Regions from separate parts of the Homo sapiens genome. Here region 1 is linked to region 2. Evidence: promoter capture Hi-C in 16 types of primary human blood cells and fetal thymus (Javierre and others, 2016). All regions are on one chromosome and are shown on one strand. Each heading gives the region's core, a stretch centred on a gene start or on the middle of the fragment in contact. The rest is flanking DNA. Distances are from core to core; before and after follow the strand shown. Region 1 has its middle 140 kb from the start of NDRG1. Region 2 holds the start of CCN4 (cellular communication network factor 4).

Region 1 (2,700 bases), core at 45-2,544, 240 kb after region 2:
CATCCTCCTGGGCACCCTGCTGGACCACATTTCAAGCCTTGTTTGCAGTGAGGTGTGGGTGGCTTTATGACGATGCCCCAGTCAATGGTATGTGGGTGAGAGTAGTGTGGTCTGTTTTGAGTACTGGTTTGAAAAAAATCTTCCACATTGTCCTCTGTGCTCTCTCTACTCCTGTCTGTAAGGGCAGGCACAGAGAATTCAGTGAGGACTAGATGTTCTTAGCCAATTGTGGAGTCATGAGATAGTGGAGCCTGTACCCCCACATCAAGGAAGACCTCCTAATAAACCCCCATATTGAGTTTCTGTCTGAGGAAAAAAAATGTATTTTCATTGTGTTAAGCCACTGAGATTTTGCAGGTGTCAGCCAACCTGACATTTTTATTTGTATTATATTTTCTTACTGTTGTATTGCCAGTCTTTTCCTACTAAAGTAGAACCTCCATGAAGCCAGTCCCTGGCTATTTTTGCCCCTATTGATGCCTCAGCAACTAGCACAGTCTCTGGTGCACAACCAAAGCTTGCTGAATGAATGAATAAATGAATGTTCTATGGAGTTCTATGTTCTATGGAGATCCAAAGCCCACCTCAAGTGTCTGCTCATTTCTGAGGACTTGGGTTCAAGGGCTCAGGGTTCTGGCACTTTGCTTTTCTTCCTGTTGAATTCATTAATTTTCAGTGTCATCATTCCATCTTTATTTACATTATGATAAGTCAGGCATAAGACTCCATCCCTTTCTGTGACTGACACACACACACACACACACACACACACACACACACACACACACAGCATCCCAAGGCCTTTGTGTGTGTGCAGGATCCTTGGCTAAAGGTGGAAGGCAGAGGAGAGCCTTCACTCCATAGCTATGTCTACACATGCAACAACCTATTTTTTTTTTTTACTTTGTTTATGTATTTATTTCCTAAGACAGGGTCTCCCTCTATTACCCAAGCTGGAGTGTAGTGACACCATTACCACTCACTGTGGGCTTGATCTCCTGGTCTCAGCCATTCTTCCATCTCAGCCTCCTGAGCATCTGGGACCTCAGGTGCAGACCACCACACCTGGCTATTTTTTTTTCTTTTTGGAGATAGAGTCTCACGACGTTGCCCAGGCTGGTCTCAAACTCCTGGGCCCAAGCAGTCCTCCTGTCTTACTCTCCCAAAGTACTGGGATCCCAGGCATGAACAACAATGCTCAGCAATGACCCATTTTTAAATGTCTAGGGCCACCTCTTATCTCGCCCAGGCTGTTTTCACTGCCATTCCCTCCACATTTTGTTCTAATGGCATGCTAGTTTTCTGGGTTTCCTCTTCTTCTTCTGCCTCTCCTCTATTCCATATTATGCTTTTTGACTCAACAAAAGTTGCAACCATATATCCCATCTCACATGCTCTTCTACCATGTAACTCTGCCATGCTCCCAACCAGAGTGGCAGTTTCTGCCTCGCCCCTGGACTACTCAGCCTGCGACGGCTCCACCCCAGCAGGGCATGGAGAGAGTAATTATGTTCCCTGCAAAGCAGCTTCCACCTCCTCCACTGGACGCTGCTTTTGGAAACCTGAGCTGACAGGTGAGAGGTTCGACTCCCCTGAGCCACAGTACTGTGAGGAAGTCTTGATCACCTGGAGAGGTTGTGACAGATGCTCTGGTCACCAGCCCTGAATGAAGCCCCATCTGTAAAAACCAAAAGTGCCATCTGTAAAAACCGAAAATAGCAGGCCCGAGGTGCCTGCTATTGAGTCACCCCAATTGGTTGAGTCTTCCCAGTTGAGGTCCCAGACACCCTGGAGCAGAGGCGAGCCACCCCTGCCATGCACTGTCCCAGTTCCTGACCCACAGAATTCGTGAGCACAATAAAATAGTTGTTTTATGTCACTAAGTTTTAGGATCTTTGCTCCACAGCAATATATCAACAGGAACATCTCTTCCCTGCTCTCTCAGAGGCAAAGAAAAAATTCCCTTCATTTTCCTCAGCAGAGCTGTGCAGTCGGTTCTTTCGTTGTCTCAGTCCCTGCCCTCAGGGTCTCACATTCTACCCCAAGTGGCTTGTGAAGGTATTTTCTTAAACAAAGCTTGGAGGTGCTCTGATGCCAGCAATTAAGATAACAAAGTGTTTTATCTCTGCCAAGTTTTTTAGTACTTTGCACATAAGACGCTTAATGAATGTTGGTTTTAAATTCCGTATTCTTCTTTGAACTCATGGGGAGTGGGAAGGTGAGTAGAAGGCTGGAATAGGGAATAATCTGAGGATTCCAGAAATATGCATTGGCTCACATTGAACTCAGCATCTGTAGCAAGTAGGATCCAGCAATCAAAGAGCTTCTACTGAAAGTTTAATAGAGGAAATTTAATCCAGAGAATTAGGTTCAATGGTATTGGAAGAACTGAGAAGCCTTTTATGTAGGGTTGCCAGATAAAATACAGAATTGCCAGTTAAATTTGCATTTCGGATAAACAATGATTTTTTTTACATGAAACTGTATGTCCCGTGTAATATTTGGAAATAGGTTTGTTGTTTATCTGAAATGCAAATTTAACTGGGCTTCCTGTGTTTCTATTTGCTAATTTTGGTAACCCTACTCACAAGGAGGACATTGAGACAACTGAGAGGTTAGAACAGCAGGAAGCTTCCTTTGCTGGGGCTGGAGGATGCGGTGTTAGCATCCCAGGGTTAATAGAGCTAGAACCCCAGGAGG
Region 2 (2,700 bases), core at 22-2,521:
AGGCTTTGGACAGTTGTATCCAGAAGATGATCTATACATGACGCTAGTTCAAGGATTGCTCTGAGATGTGTGGATGGTAGAAGGTGGGCAGGGAGGCTGGGTATCAGTCAGGAGGCTGTGGCAGCGGTCCCCATGGGGAGCACAGGGCTGGACTAGGACAGCCCATAGAAGACATCCCATCTCCTTTCTTGCCCAAGGAAGAGACTCAGTGGCAGCAGTGCAATAAGGGTACAGGCCAGGAAACCCAACCCCCCAGGGATAGCAAGCATCCAGAGACACGTGGGGACAGCTCCAGCACCAAACGGCTTCTGACCAATGAGCAGAGACGGCAAACAGCAAATGCGTTACCGTGGCTTTCACGTGTCATGAAGGTGATGCTGTAACCTGAGCCTCAGAGCTCATTTTATTTGTGAATTCCTATCATCTCTAGATGGGTGGACTGAAAGCCACCTCTTTCGCTTGCAGCTAGGTAGAGGGGAGTGCAAGAGGGCAAATGAAAACCAGAAGTAGGGTTGGGCGCAATGCCTCACGCCTGTAATCCCAGCACTTTGGGAGGCTGATGTGGGCGGATTACCTGAGGTCAGGAGTTTGAGACCAGCCTGGCCAACATGGTGAAACCTCGTCTCTACTAAAAATACAAAAATCAGCTGGGTGTGGTGGCACATGCCTGTAATCTCAGCTATTCAGGAGGCTGAGGCAGGAGAATTGCTTGAGCCTGGGAGACAGAGGTTGCAGTGAGCAGAGATCGCGCCACTGCACTCCAGCCTGGCCGACAGAGCGAGACTCTGTCTCAAAAAAAAAAAAAAAAAAAAAAAAAAAGAAAAGAAAAGAAAAAGAAAAAGAAAAGGAAAAAGAAAACCAGAAGTAGGAGCAGCCTGAAGAAATGACAGGGAGTTGATTTCCCACTGGGAGCCCTCTCAAAGCCCACACACCCGCCTGCCTGGGGTAACAGTATCTCCTCGGACATCCTGCACCCTCCCATGCTCCCCCCTCCCTACAGTAGTGAAAGACCTAGGCAGGATGACCCCAGCTCCTCTGTGAGAATTTCACACCCTAGTGTGAAGTCATAGCCTTGTAACTTTCCCTTTAAGAACTGTCAGAGCTGGGGAGGCTGGCCAAGCTCAGGCTGGAGGTGGGGACAGAGGGAAGAAAGAAAAAAAAAAAAGAGAGAGAGGCAGGAAAAGTTTTTTCAGAGGAAAATGCAGGGTTTGTCCTTCACCCTGACGTCAGATCTTGCTTTAATAAAACCCCCCAAGGGCTGCGGAAGAGGCATATCTGGTGCTCCTGATGGGCCGGCCAGTCTGGGCCCAGCTCCCCCGAGAGGTGGTCGGATCCTCTGGGCTGCTCGGTCGATGCCTGTGCCACTGACGTCCAGGCATGAGGTGGTTCCTGCCCTGGACGCTGGCAGCAGTGACAGCAGCAGCCGCCAGCACCGTCCTGGCCACGGTGAGTCCTGCCTGGAGGGGCTCAGAGGGAGACCCAGCTCCCTTCTCTACTGGGTCCTGCTACATGGGGGCTGGTGGGCAGGATGAAAAGGGCCAGGAAGGTTTGGGGCTGGAAGGTGGCCACTTACAGGGCAAGGACAGAGCCCAGGGTGAGGAGTCAGCTGCCCAGGTTGGCTGAAGCTGGCAGGGTGAGGAGGACGGTGCGACACTTGGGGAAACAAACTGCACAGGTCCAGCCTGCCCTCTCTCCCCACCTGAAACAGTGCAGAAAGAACGGGGCCCTCAGCAGAACTGGGAGTCAGGGGCCCGGGCTCCAGACCCGTCTTCGCCTAACCTGGCTGTGTGGCCTCGGGTGGGTCACTCACCCTCCAGGAGCAGCGTAAAGCGACGAAGTTGTTAGGTGACTTCTAGAGTCTCTGAGTTTGAAAACTCCAAGACTCCAAGCATTGGAGATGCTGCGAAGATGGGAGATGGAAAAAGCCAAAAAAAATTGGAAAGAAAAATGCCAGCTTTCAACAAAAGCTCCTTATTGAGCAAACAGTGCTCAGGGTGATGTCTAACCCCAACTGCTGTCACCTCCGGTCTGCACAGCCCTCTGCAGTCTGCAGAGTGTCCATACTTGGGTCCTGCCTATGAAGCCTGCTGTTCCAGGGTGGGGGTGATGTGGGCACCCCAGAGTCTCTCTCTCTTCCACCTGCACCCCAGGGTACACCAAGGGGAAGGGACAAAGGTCTGCACCTCCAAAAGCCAGGGGAGTCACATATGTGACCGTGTAGAGCCAGCCTGCTAGGGCCAGGCATGGTGAGGAAAAGGCAGAGGCAGGCAGTGCAAGGAGGGCAGGAGGTGGGTACCTGGCAGCTTCTGAGCCCCAGATTCCACAGCCCAGGGCAGGACCTGCTCCTGGCAGAACAGCCTAGAGACGGAGGGGTGATGGCAAAAGAGTGTTTATCCCCAAATGACACTGATGGCTTCCTTGGGGGTTAAGAAGCCCCCTTCACAGATAAGGAAACCGTGTGTTGGGGTTAAACCACTTGCCAGAATCAGACTCTAGGTCTGCTTCAGCCAGAACTGAGGCCGAGAGCCGACAGCAAACTGAGACCTGGGAAATAGGAATTCCTCTCAATGCCTCGGTGTGTGTAATGATGGCGGGGAGTGGGTCTGTTTCATCTTGGTTAAATCCTCACGCCTGGCATGGTGCCTGACTATAGTTGGTTCAGAACCACCTTACCAGAAAGTTATCAGCTCCATTTCACAA

Evidence for each region. Contacts are between HindIII fragments. The CHiCAGO score rates a contact against its expected background, and 5 or more counts as called.
Region 1: a contact is called between a fragment that was not itself captured here and the fragment with the promoter of CCN4 in region 2, in 8 of 17 cell types (naive CD4 T cells, naive CD8 T cells, activated CD4 T cells and 5 more). The highest score is 8.6, in naive CD4 T cells.

The regions. Positions count from the first base shown.
Region 1 is chr8:133,431,502-133,434,201 of GRCh38, forward strand. No RefSeq gene overlaps it. Among named protein-coding and RNA genes, the nearest start is that of NDRG1, 140 kb to the left of the region's middle. The HindIII fragment of the contact is 1,559 bases long and covers 516-2,074 here.
Region 2 is chr8:133,189,768-133,192,467 of GRCh38, forward strand. It overlaps CCN4 (cellular communication network factor 4), which reads left to right and starts at 1,272. Exons shown (of 5, transcript NM_003882.4): 1 at 1,272-1,446. The coding sequence starts at 1,378. RefSeq lists a silencer at 2,144-2,391. The HindIII fragment of the contact is 13,274 bases long and covers 1-2,700 here.